Linked DNA regions of Homo sapiens: region 2 is linked to region 1. The links are contacts of gene promoters, found by promoter capture Hi-C in human tissues and cell types (Jung and others, 2019). All regions are on one chromosome and are shown on one strand. The core of a region is centred on a gene start or on the middle of the fragment in contact, and the rest is flanking DNA. Distances in the headings are between cores, read along the strand shown. Region 1 holds the start of GRIA1 (glutamate ionotropic receptor AMPA type subunit 1). Region 2 has its middle 43 kb from the start of GRIA1.

Evidence for each region. Contacts are between HindIII fragments. The study calls those that stand out against the background at their distance.
Region 2: a fragment that was not itself captured here is called in contact with the fragment with the promoter of GRIA1 in region 1 in 3 of the 25 tissues and cell types used here (aorta, dorsolateral prefrontal cortex and hippocampus).

Annotation. Positions count from the first base shown.
Region 1 is chr5:153,487,025-153,494,025 of GRCh38, forward strand. GRIA1 (glutamate ionotropic receptor AMPA type subunit 1) reads left to right here and starts at 3,646. Exons shown (of 16, transcript NM_000827.4): 1 at 3,646-3,946; 2 at 6,904-7,001. The coding sequence starts at 3,865. The HindIII fragment of the contact is 6,455 bases long and covers 173-6,627 here.
Region 2 is chr5:153,443,865-153,450,865 of GRCh38, forward strand. No RefSeq gene overlaps it. Among named protein-coding and RNA genes, the nearest start is that of GRIA1, 43 kb to the right of the region's middle. RefSeq lists an enhancer at 5,859-6,719. The HindIII fragment of the contact is 3,143 bases long and covers 289-3,431 here.

The DNA of each region.
Region 1 (7,001 bases), core at 2,396-4,895:
AATTAATTTGAGGAGTAGGTGCCATGCTGTCTCTAGAGCACAATTTGAGCAGCATTTGGAGGCTTTTCCAATGGGATGTCAGCCACCTGGAGTTCCTCCATTAGATACTTAACTGCTGGACTTTAATGAGCACCCATCTTCAGATATCCCACTTTAAAATATGAAAAGTCTTAAAAGATAATCAACTTAATTTTTCTTCAGTGTAATATAATGGGAGGGACGCTGCAGGGTCCTGGTGCCCAGTCCCTGGCATGCCAATCACTAGTCCCCTTAAGGAAGGTTTTTTGGCCTCAATGCTATTTATATTTGGAACCAGATAATTCTTTTTTGTGGGGTGGATGCTCTGTGAATTGTAGGATGTTTAGTGGCATCCCTGGCCTTCACCCATGAGATTCCAGGGGTACAATTCCATAATTGTGAGAACAAAAAACATCTCTGGACATTTTTGCCAAATATCCCCTGGGGGAGAAAATTGCTGTCAGTTGAGAACCACTGTCTTAAGCTAATCATGTAGCCACTTTGAAGACTTTGCCACTTTGGGAATGGCAAATAGGACTGGGGACTCTAAAGAGAGACAGCATGATGAGCTAATAAAGGATGACGTCAAATAAGTTATTTAGGGAAATGAAGCTGTTTGGTAGGTAGTTCTAACCTTTGAGGATGAGGAAATGAGAAAATCACCTTCTACCAGTGGTCAATCTTTTCTTTCTCATGCACATGCCCGCTATTGTAACTAGCATACTAAAAATGCCCCCATGGCTCATCATGGTCCACCAGGAATTCAGTGGGTTCCAAATCCTGACACTGACTTCCTCTAAGTTCCAAGTTCCCCAGTACACTCTTCCCAGTTATGCACTGCCGGCTCCAGGCTAACAGAGCACGTGGCATTCTTTCCTGCCCCCAGCCTTTGCTGGGGCTCTTTCCTTGGTTTGCATGTCCTTCCCAGTCCTCAGTTACTGCCTATAATCTCCTCATCCTTCACGGCTCAGTTCTTTTGAAGCCTTGCTGGATCCCCACAGACAGACACACTGATTGCATCCTTCTTTGCTCCCCCGCTGCTGTGTTTACATCTTTTAGAGCACTTGTCATGGTCTTTCTGGGTGACAGTTGTCCGGGTTCGTCTGTCTTCTTCTTCTGCCACATTCACCTGCCTTGAGGCAGAGACTGTGTCTGATTCCTCTTCATATTGCCCAGCACCTGGCACCCTGTGAGATACAGAATAGGTTCCCCACCAACATTTGAAATGAAGAGAATTATAAAGAAACATGGAATAAACATTGAACCTAATGTAGTTTGACCTAGATGCCTACACTTGAAATATGTAAGTTCTATATTTAATCAGTGAACAACTATGTATTTAATAGACCAAGGGGAGCTATTGACCATACTTGAGCAGGGCAATGACGTAGACCTCTGTTTTAGGAAGATCTGCTTGACTATATGATTTATAATGACCATGGAAAATTCATCTTTTTGACTCCCTTAAAAGTCCCCTCCCTACAAAGTATGCAAAACAAATCTTACCTAATGCAGGGGGACATTGAGGTTTTGCTTGTAAAGGGTCTAAAGAGCTTCCTCTAAAAGGTGATTGCAAGGTGTGAAGCCTTTAATGACAGCCTAATTATTATTATTACCAGGCACAAAGCTTAGGGAACCTAAAAGATCCCCAGGTACTATTCAAAGTAGTAAGATACAAAAACTGAAAATGGAGAAATTAAAAGATGGAATCATTAAATCAGAGACTCTTAATGTTGGCAGAGACCTTAGAAGTGATCTTTCCTGATTCTGTTCTCTCATCTTCCTATGCTGATGCTTATTCTTCCTTTAGAAGGTTCCTACCCAGTGCTTGCTGTTATTAGAGCCTAAGAGTTAAGAGCTGGGGCCTGATGGTGGCATTTACTGTGTTTAAATGCCCAATCTCTTTCATTAGCAGTGAAAACTTGGGGTGAGTTTTTAGACCTCTGTTTCTTCATCTATAAAATGGGCATGAGGCTACCTACACAGGTATTGTACAAATAAATGATGCAGGTGCATTTCTTAGCATGGTACCTGGCACATTCAAAATAGTGAATAAACATTAGCCTTAAAAATTATTTTAGCTAATTAATTAATATATGTGAAAGTGCATAGGAAATCACAAAGCATTTGACCTCCAAGTTGTTCCTATTTTGGGGCTTCATTGTACATGGTCAGATATTTTTTACAAATCCCAGTCCTTGTAGCTGTCACTCAAGTCCACATGATATACAGTCCTGGTGAGGGAAGTGAAGAGTCTGTGGATAAAATGGCCTATTCATATGGCAAAGCAAAATGGAGTCCAAAGTCTATTATTTCTTTCTTACTAAAGACAAAGTTGACTTTCCTTTTCCTGGATCATCTCCTGTTGGACAGGAGTCCTGGCCAGGGCAGTAAGTCAACTGGTAACGGCCAAAGCACTCAAGTTTGTAGGTTGTACTGTACATCTTAGTAGGTCTGTGTCTTTATGACTTAATCCCAGAAGTCTTATCTTTTTCATCTGTAAAACAGGGCTCATGGCCACTTTACAGGTTTGGAGTGAAGATAGATGGATAAAAATCTGTAAAGTTCCTTCAAAAACTGTATTCTGTGGCGGCTAGTGGCTGCTGCTTTGCATTTAACACTACTATCCTGAACACAGCTGATCTCTCTACAGGTTATTTCAGCAGAAGCCCTGGTCTAGGAGAGTCTATGAAGTTCCAGCTTACACCAGACATGACCAGCATCCAGAAAGACCTGAAAGAAGCTTGAATCCTCTCACTAGAATCCCTGCAAAATGACTCATGTAATTGCTCTGTGTAAGTATCCTTAGTCTTTATTGTACACCCACACGATTCTGATGCTATAGACTCCTGTGGAATGCAGGGAAAGAGAGAAGGGGGCCCATTTTAAATGCCTAGGATTGAAAAGAGACCACCGTTTCACTTGTAAAGGTAGACAGGGACTGTCAAATACCTGGTCAAAATACCTGCCAGTCACTCCAGATCCTCCCTTGTTTGTCTATCTGTCATTCCTTCCATTAGGAGAGAGAAAGCTTTTTTTTTTTTTTCCTTTAAATTTCCTAGGAGGGATTTCTAGGGTCTTTCCCTCAGGAATTAGTTGTAGGAATAATTGGGCCAGTGGAGTGCAGGAGATATATCCAGCGCAGCCCATGCACTCCTAGAAAAAGTGACCTAGATCAAGCAGCTGGTGGATTGAGGACTATTGTGGGGACCCCCTGCCACCTACTGACTTACAGCTGAACCCACATTCCCAGCAGCTTCAGCCTGGGGGCTGGGGGAGCGGGCAGACCGAGCTCAGAAAGGCAGGGGAGGGTAAAGAGGACTGTGGGGTTGCCCCTTTCAGGACCAAGTGCCACGTGTCACACACCCCCACCTCCACCTTTCTGCACACACAGAAAGGAGGATAAGGTGAGGATGGGAGGAAGGGGGAACAGGTAGGGAGGTCGGCTGTGGAACTCCAAGCTAGCTCGGTGGGTATTAGCATAGAGCTTGCTGCCTGTGTGAGTGTGAGGGGGAGAGCGAGAGAGAGCAAGGGAGGGAGAGAGAGGCAGGCTGCGAGGGGAGAGGAGAGGGAGTGGGGGAGCCAGCGCTCCAGCTAGCATGAGGACGGGCTTCTTTTCCCGTGCTCAGTTAATCTGGCTGTCAGTTGGTGTTAACGCTGCAGTTTAAGTGTTCGGATTCCAAGGGAAACAGACAAACCTCACGAAAGGAAGGAAGCAAGCAAGCAAGGAAGGAACTGCAGGAGGAAAAGAACAGGCAGAACAGCGAGAAGAATAAAGGGAAAGGGGGGGAAACACCAAATCTATGATTGGACCTGGGCTTCTTTTTCGCCAATGCAAAAAGGAATATGCAGCACATTTTTGCCTTCTTCTGCACCGGTTTCCTAGGCGCGGTAGTAGGTGCCAATTTCCCCAACAATATCCAGATCGGTGAGTGAGGGGGCAGCCTGGGGAGGGACTTTCTGGGTCTGGCCAGGGATTTTTTTGGGGATAGGGGTTGTGTACCCCCTCCCCGGTACTGACTGTTTTGCTTGGCTCCCTAAAGCTGTGCTGCGGTAACAGAAGGGAGACTTGGGCTTACAGCCAGAGGAGGGGGCTTCTCCTGATCGGATGAGGGGCAGAGGGGAAGTGTTCACACACGCACACATACCCTACTCGCACTCCAGGCAAGAGCATGTGAAATGGAGGAACCATCGCTTTGGAGGAAAAAAAAAATCAGGCTGGAAAGGGTGGTGGGTGTTTAAGGAGTTAACTCTATTGCTTGGTAGATGGTGCTTGATTCCATTTTTAATGTAAGTATGTATGGTGTGTGTGTTTTCACGTGTGTGATTATATATTACATATGCACATATATATGTAATTGAAGGAGGCAGTGCTTTCTCTGCTGGGGGACAGAAAAGAGACCCTCGAGAAGAAGGAGTGAGGGGTGCTGGGTATATTGCAGCCACTGAAATAATGCCAGAAGGCCCCCACTCCAAGGCGGGTAGGCTCCCTCTCCTGTTCTGGACTCCTCCAGCTGCCTTCTCTTTGCTGTCTGCCATGCTGCGCTGGTGGTCTCCACTCCCCCGATCCTGGAACTTCCTCGCCTGCCTTTTCTCCGTTCCTTCCTTGCCCCCTCCTCTTAGATTTCCTATCCACAGAGGTCTACCTTTTACACACACAAACACACACACGTACACATGCTCCTTTCTCCTCCTGTTGGCTCTCCATTATCCTTGTTACTGGGCTCCATCCTCTCAACTTGGAGGCAGGTTTCAACATGCTGCATGCTTTTTTTGTTCCCCATTTCCCCTTCTTAGTTGTTACACTTCTCAAAGGCCCCGCCACCCTCCCTGTATTTCTGAGGGGACTGACAGATATTGCTACTCCTGATAATCATGAGGGAAAGCAAAACAAACAGAAGCAATAACACCAATCACAAAGCATGTCCACAAGGGCTTGGGGCTTCCGTGTGACCAGCATGTCAGTGTCGTTTGTGTCCCGGAATGAAGCAAGCTGCTGTGTTTGGAAGCATCTTCGTTGGTTTGGTTTCTAGTCTCTCTCCCCTGGTAGGGAGATAGCTCCACTAGGGAAAGTTCGCATTGCTGGGAGTTTGTGCTCTTTTGTGAGTGTGTGTTTGAGGGGGGATGTGGTGCAATTGATATTTTGTCGGGCATACATGTGCTGCAGTACCCATCTCTTTCAGCCTCTCCAGCTAGCTGGCGGCTTGGAGTGGCCATGGAGTAACTTGCTTTGTTTCCTGACACCTGTTAAGCTACATCCTGAAGTGTGTACGTATCTGTGTGTTAGTGCCTAACACGCAAAACTTCCTGCCTTCAGGGGAGACACTTCCCTTGTAGCCCAGCCCGTAGCCTTCTACTCCTCAACCTCCCATCCTTTCTCTTTCATTCATTGCAGAGGAGGAGAAAGGGGACAGGGAAGTGTTTGGGGTGTGGTCATCTGGGGGGAAGGGGGAGCATCATAATCAAGAATTTTTTTTGTTTTCATTCTTTAAAATGGGAGCACTTGTACATGTGGAAATCACTGGCTCTTACATGTGGCATTGTTTACATTTGTGCTTATATACTACCTATCCTTTGTGGCTTGGAAGTGTTTGTCTAGTATATTTGTGTATATAGTAAATGGTATAAATGCATGAGGATGTTTCATGTATGTGCTATGTTTTCTCATGTATCTCTGCATATTTTTAAAATTATATTTAGCCCTAACTTGGTTGTTCAACTGATAAAGCCATTGCTACTGTTTTCAAAAAAAAAAGAGATTGAAGCATTAAATTGTAGAACAAAATGCTGAAAATATCACTGCCATCAGGTAGTACTTGATTCTATTTGTGTGATCTGTAACAAAAGGCTTGCAATCCATTTATTGGTTCTTAAAAACAGACACCCACTCTACAAGAAGTTAGAAGTGCATTATGTTTGGACTGTGATTACTGTCAGATTTGAGATAAACTTCTATGTAAACATCATTATAGTTCAGTCTCTAGAAATGGCTGATTTTAATTCACAGAAATGTAATTGATTTACATGTTGACAGTAAATACAAAGGTAAGCCATGGACTCTTGTTTCTCGGAACAGGCATCCCATCAGGCACCTTTACTATACCTTTTACTAGAATAGAATGTTTGTATCCTCTTGAGATGCCTAAGATCCCACATCTTTGAAGCACAAGGTTCCACCATGCAAACACACAATGGCAATCCCTTATGTAACAAGTCATTCCTAGGTAACTGGGATCATGTGTGGTGAAAGAGTAAGCAAAACATTGTTTGCAGAAAAGCAAGAGTTTTTAGAGAAAATGAATAATAAACCTTAGGGGCAATAGAATAGTTAAATTGCATGCAGGTCTTGCTAGGCCAAAGACTAAAAACTGTCCATGTAAACAGTTATAGTAGTGGAGAAGCCCACAGGGTCCCAGAGCTAGATTTCAATCACCCTGCAGCACTGATTAGTACCTACTTCCCGTAAGGCTCTCTGGTGAGAGATGAGGCTGATGTAAGAAAAATTAGACATGACTAGAGGGTGAGGGGGCTTATGTGTATGTTTATATAAGAGAATAGCAGCTCCTAGGTGGTTTGCACAAGGGAGGAAGAAGAGAAATGGCACAAGTCTCCTGTTTTCTCTGACTTTAGCTGAGTTGAGGGGTACACAATCAAATGTTTGAGCAAAGTAATAGATATTAGAGGCCCATGTCACAAAAAAGCTCATCTGTAGGAGTTTAAGTTTCAGTGTCCAGTTAAGCCTATTTGAACTCTCATCTCTACCACTCAAGGCTACAGCTAGTGAGTTTGGCATGGGGAGAAGAAAAGGACTCATCTGGAGTGAGTCGTGAGGAACTAAAACCTGTCTCTAGCCCATATACCATGTTGCATTTTCTTTTCTCATAGGGGGATTATTTCCAAACCAGCAGTCACAGGAACATGCTGCTTTTAGATTTGCTTTGTCGCAACTCACAGAGCCCCCGAAGCTGCTCCCCCAGATTGAT
Region 2 (7,001 bases), core at 610-3,109, 45 kb before region 1:
TCGATCTCCTGACCTCGTGATCCGCCCGCCTCGGCCTCCCAAAGTGCTGGGATTACAGGCGTGAGCCACCGCGCCCGGCCAAAACCTGTTTATTCTTACTCCCATCATGGGATCACTTTCCCATTTTTGTATTATAGGCTCTGAGAAGATCCATGATGGTGTAAACTAAAACAAAATATTTCTTGAATTTATTTGAGGAAAAAGTATATGATACAGTGATATATAATAATATATTATGTATTATATAATATATATTTATGTTATTATATATAATATATACATATATAGCACTAAATAATCATATAAATATATATAATGTATATAAATAAAAATATACACACATATGTTTTTTCCCTCCTCTGGTTCACATCTTAACCTAATGTAGAACTATTTCTTATAGGACATAGTTTGACAAACCCTAGATTGAAATGATAATTAAAGACCTTGGTGGTTTTTAAATATTGGCATTTTATGACTTGGTAACACTTCATTAAGCAGCACATCAAGCCAGTTACCATACTGTGATAACTGATGTGCATAATGATGACCTGCACATTTTAAAGATCCTGAAGGGCAGTCTGAGCCAATGAAGAAAGATTGAATTTATGTTCCTATGGCTAAGGACTGAGGGCCCCTTTTTATATCTGGACCTTTTGCATATTAGTACCCTGAGAGAGAGAGAGAGAGAGAGAGAGAGAGAGAGAGACAGAGACAGAGAGACAGAGAGAGAGAGAGTGAGTTTATGTATACCTTTAGTGTATACTACTAAAAGGTGAACGTTTTAAACTGTATATATGTGCAGTTGCACAGTTACACACATCCATAGTTCAGATCTAAATAGAGCTCTGCTGAAGGGGAAAAAGCAGTTGGCACCCAAAATCTTTCTGGTAAGTTTTCATAGAGGGTTCTGATAAGAGGCATTTTGTTACATGAAAAGTGCATGAGCTTGGCAATCAGACAGATATGTAGCTAGCAGGCTGAGGTCTGTGAGTTATATATCTGAACCTCAGTTTCCCATCTGTTGAATGGGGAAAAAGTAGCTACCTCTAGATGTTAAATAGCAAATGTAAAGATTCTAGCACAGAGGAAGAATTCAATAGAAACTTTAGGTAAATTTACACCTCTTTTCAATGTGTCTTCTTGAGGACAGAATCTGTAACTTCTAAACTTGGGCTCTGCACATCTAGCATACATCATCTAGCATCTCAGCCTGCCATTGACTTTCCCGATAGGATTTCTACTGAGAAAATTCAGTAGGTTCAGTGGGTTCTACTGCCAGATGTAAACTGCTTTATAAATTGATTAGTTAACCATAAAACTTAAATTTTGAAATAAACTAGGCATTTATTCTCACCATACCCCTCCTGCCAAAGCCCATTAGCGGAAGAACTAGGGTGTCCTTCTTCCCTACCTCATCCTAGTTTCTTTCTGCAAACTTCAAATTGTCACTTCCTCAGAAGGCTTTCCTTGACCACCTTGAATAGTTCATTTTCTGTTGACAGCACTGGGTACTTCTCTTTTGGAGCACATTCTGCAGCAATCTTTCTCTTTCTCTATCTCTTTGCACTTCTTTGATTTTCATCTGTTCTCCCAAACCAGTTTGTAAACTATGAGAGGGCAGAGACTATGTATGACTGCCTTTCTCTGCCAGTGTTATTTTCAGTACTGAACAGTGTTTGGCACATAGTAGGTACTGAACAAATACTTGAATGAATAAATGCTCTTTTTCCATTTCTTACTAAGAGCTTATTCCTTGTGAGTTTTTCATCAAGGCTGAACATCGTAAGTAAGCTTGCAGCCAGAGTTCTCTCTGTGCCCCACCTCTGCGTGAAAACGTAACCCAGTGACAACTAAAAGGTCACATCCTAGAGGCTTTTGGCCAGCTTGCTTACAATTGGCTTTCAACAAAACAAAAAGCGATGGAAGGCAGGTGAGATTGAATCAGAAATCATCTCCATGTTATGATCCTTTTCTTGCTGCTGGCAACATGTAGCTGTTTGCTTGGTGTAGCTCAGTTTCTGGGTTCTCTAGCGCCACCAAACTTTGCAGACTTCACTTCCGGTGGGTTCACATTTGCATGAGCTCTGGCCATCCTACATTGCTCTACCCTGTAACATTTGTGACTTAACTGCCTGGCTTCTGACCCCATCACTCCTCCACACCCTACAACCCACGTCTCCCTTGTGCTATATTCCCCAGTCTTGGCTCTGTTCCCAGTGCCCTCAGCCTGCTGCCACCCACGGCACAGCATGACGAAATGATTCCTTCGACAATATTTGCCTTTGGAAACATAGCCCACGGGCAAGAGATGCCTGGATTTAAATATCCAAACTGTATTTCTCTGCAGCAGGAATTGAGGAATTGTGTTCTCTAGGGTCTTTCCAAACCCAAGTGCCTGTGTGTTCAACAGGCTCTGTGGTTTCATGAGAGACTGTGGATGGGATTGATTTTTTTCTTTAGCTCTTCCCCAGTTGACCTTGGCTGACTGCCCTGTGTCCTGGTATCCTTCTCTAAACCCGAACATGGAGATCCCAGGAAAAGAAAATGCTAAATCAAGGCCAGTGGTGATATTTACTTAGAACAGATGGTGACACAATCCTAAGCTTTCTCGCCCTGAGCATTACTCCAGGAGAATTTTCTGGGTCTGATACAGCTGAGAAAGGATGAATTCAGGCACATTTTTTCCCTGAGCCTGTCTACAAAAAGTGTGTTAAAAACTCATTATTCATTTTTAAAAATAGAGACCTCTACAATGAATTCCACTTCTATGTTCGTAGTATGTGAAACAGCATCGTATTGGAAAGGAACCAGACTAGGTGTCTGGAGATTTGCATTCTACTTCCAGCTTGAAAAAGTTACTTAATTTTCCAGGTCTCATTTTCCTTATAGGTTAAGCTGCCTTAAGCTTCCTTATATTACCATGTGCCTAATACCATGCCTGGCTAAAGATAATATGGATAACAGCAAGGACTAACATTTATCTACGTTTTTTGTGTGCCTGTTACTCTTCTAAGCATTTTGAGGTATTCAACTATTTATTGCATGAATAAATAACTAAAAACAGAAAAATGAATCCAAGTCCTTTTGAGAAGCTTTATTTTATATATATATTTTTTATACATATTCTAATTTAATTATCCTCTCTTAGACCTCTATCTAATACTGTCCCTGCCACTTACTAATACAATTTTCTGCTTGAGTTTTTGGTATCACTAGATGGCAGGGTACATGTTCTCACTCATTTTTGTTCTCCCAGCAGCTGGTATAAATCCTAGCAGATAAAAGGTGTTCAATAAATGTAAGATTCATAAATGGTCCAAGACCAATAAAATGTAAGCTCCATGAGGGCAATGGAGCAATGGCTTTGTCTCTTGTATTCTATACTTCTCTGTGCTAAAAATTGTGCCTGGCAAAAGTAGACGCTCAACAGCTAGGTGAATGAAGGAATGAACGAACAAGCTAATGAACAAACAGTAAAGAATCCACTGACAAAGCCATGTTTGCTCTGTTTAGGGTACAAAACTACTTGAGCATCTATGGAACAACAGCAAGACTTGAGGCAGAGTAGGCTGCAGATTTTAATAACACCTGGTAGACACCAGTAGCAGGCAAGGAGCTCGCACAGTGTACAGTGTGACAGTTTGCATTTAGTTGGATGTCTTATTCATCCTCCCTAAGTACAGAGATGATAAAGAAGAATGGGATCTCAGGCTGCTGCAAGGAATAAAAATTGATACTCCTTCCCTTTGAATAAGCAAGTCTCATTGAAAGCTTTGATTCTTTTGCCTATTAGAGAGTCCATGATCCGTCACTTCAGGCGAGGCCCACGTGTATGTTTATCTGGTAAGTTTGCAAAGGAATCTGGGAAACGCTGCTACCACCACCGCAGATGGTATCTCTGCCAGCCGTTTTGAATTGTGGCAATTGCTACCGCTCCAAGCTCCTCCTGTCCCGGCCCCCTCTTTTTAATCTGCATCCTTTTATCTTTCTCATTTCACATTTGTTTTCTGATCTGCTTGGTTTTGATACTAGGAATTAAAAACAAGCATCAAATTGCATTTTAGATCTGCAGAGCCCAATCATCTCAACCTGTCATTGACTTTCCCGATAGGATTCCTACTGAGAAAATTCAGGTGAGAGGACCTTGTGGTTTCAAACAACTGATGAAATCAAGGATATCGTGGGTTGCTGATTACAGTCTGGGCCGCTTGAGCCTTTGGTTATGTAACAAAAAAAAAGTAGCAAAAACAGAAATTCCTAAAGCTGTTACATATTTAGAGTCTAGTTTGTTACATGTTAGGCTATTTTATCAACTTGTGAAAATTTGTTTTTTATTGGGATATCATCCTAAAATGAGAAAGTATAACAAGATGTGTAGTGTAATAGAACCTCAGATGGGGAGTTCAGAGACAAGTTTTGCTGTCAGCTATGACCTTCCTAGCAACTGAAAAACTTCCTCAGTTGGCTCTTTAACTAGATGTTAATGTATCATATTTTATATATTGAGATTTAGCCATGCACGGCCCAATTAACTATAGCTGGAGAGGGAAAGAGAGGCAAGTTAGAACTGAGAAATTCCTGACCAAAGTCTCTACCTTCTTTGGTTCTCAAGATAAATGCTTATTCTATAAAAGATGGAATAATAAAAATCATAATACTGGCAGCCATTGCAACATTTGTGAATGTTCTTTGTGCCAGTCACTGTGCTTAGTGCTTTAAAATCACATCATTTAATCCTTATAACACCAGCATGAGGTGACAACTTTTCTTATCCCCAAAATACTAATAAAGAGATGTGGTTTGAAAGAGGTTCAAAAACTAACACCCCAAACTGGGTCAGATCCCCTTGTTATACCCTGTACTTTTCCTTTGTATTGATTGTCGAAGCTCATAGCTAGATATTTGTGTGACTTTGTTCACATTAGATTTAGGGCATGGGCTGTAACCATTTGCTCACTGTTTTTGCATAGAATAATGCCTGGCACATAGTTAGGGCTCCATAAAAAAAAAAAAATCACTGACTGAGTAAGCTAGATTTGCTGACTGGCATAGCAGCTGGAAAGATAGGTCTGTTTGCAGGAGTTGGGTACCTGAGGTCATTGGGACAGACATCAGATCCTAGGCCAGCCCATAAGTCAACCCTGAAGGCTTAGATATGAGGAGTTGGGGGAGAGGGATCAATAGTAATGAGAGCTCCAGCAACAGATAAGCTTCTGAATTCAGACATATAATCCAAGAAATCACAGGCAAGTGACTCGATCCTAGGTCCAAGGCTATAATCTAAATAGTCAGATTTCAGTTACTAGAAGGCAGAATGATATAGCAGAAAAGGCATGAGTTCAGAGCCAGAAAAGATCTAGATACAAACCTTCATTTGGTAACTCACAGCTGTATGGTGTTGTGATTGTCAATTGGAACCCTTTTTAAATATCTTTAAATTACCTGAAAGATGGGAATAAATCTCATCTTGTAAAGCTGTGGAAACACTTGATAACTACCAAATATTGGGCCCTTAGTATAGGCCAGGTGTGTGTGTTAACACTTTATACACATTAGCTCTCTTGCACTTCACAATTATTCTATGCTACAGGAACTATTGTCACCCTTTTACAGAGGAGGAAACTGGAAGTCAAATAGCCCCAGCTGTGGAGAGAGGCAGGTTAGAAGGGAAGAACCTGGGTGGGTGCAGATTGCAGAGATCCACATTGGAAAAGAGATGGCTTACCTTTCCTGCTTTCACCCATAGATGTCATCATGATCCCCTCAGTAAGGACAGACTTTATAGTCATTTTTAGCCATATGCTGCAGGCTATCAGTACCTTTCATGCGCGTCTGTGTGAAGAGACCACCAAACAGGCTATGTGTGAGCAACATGGCTGTTTATTTCACCTGGGTGCAGGCGGGCTGAGTCCAAAAAGAAAGTCAGCGAAGGGAGATAAGGGTGGGGCCGTTTTACAGGATTTGGGTAGGTAAAGGAAAATTACAGTCAAAGGGGGTTTGTTCTCTGGTGGGCAGGAGTGGGGGTCGCAAGGTGCTCAGTGGGGGTGCTTTTTGAGCCAGGATGAGCCAGGAAAAGGACTTTCACAAGGTAATGTCATCAGTTAAGGCAAGGACCGGCCATTTAGACTTCTTTTGTGGTGGAATGCCATCAGTTAAGGTGGGGCAGGGCATATTCACTTCTTTTGTGATTCTTCAGTTACTTCAGGCCATCTGGGCATATACGTGCAAGTCACAGGGGATGCGATGGCTTGGCTTGGGCTCAGAGGCCTGACATTCCTGCCTTCTTATATTAATAAGAAAAATAAAATAGTGTTGAACTGTTGGGGCGGCGAAAATTTTTGGTGGGTGGTATGGAGAGAGAATGGGCGATGTTTCTCAGGGCTGCTTCAAGCGGGATTAGGGGCGACGTGGGAACCTAGAGTGGGAGAGATTAAGCTGAAGGGAGGTCTTGTGGTAAGGGGTGATATTGTGGGGATGTTAGAAGAAACATTTGTCGTATAGAATGATTGATGATGGCCTGGATACGGTTTTGTATGAATTGAAAAACTAAATGGAATAACAGAAGGAGAAAAACAGGTATAAAAGGTCTAAGAATTGGGACGACTCAGGATATCTGATTAGAGAGTGCTTAAGGAGATTTGGCATAGTCCTGCCAGCAAAGATTATTTATTTACTTCAAGAGTTAAGAGTGGCAGGTTGGGGATAGCACCAGGAGATATCAGCTGTGATGGCTTGGAGAAACAGTGTAAACTGGCAGTGTAAACAAGAGCAGGGCATGTATGAGTAGTTGAGAACGGCGAATAGGAGTATGACTAGACAGAAAATAGTAGGGATGACAAGTTTTTTTGGGGGGGAGGGGCACAGTCTAAGTTGGTCTGGTGTCTGGAATGAGACTGGGGCCTAATAAAAAGGAGCATCTATATAGGAGCTTAAATGCGCTGTATCCTGTAGCATTCCGAGGACAGGCCTGAATTCTGAGAAGGGAAAGTGGTAAAAGTATT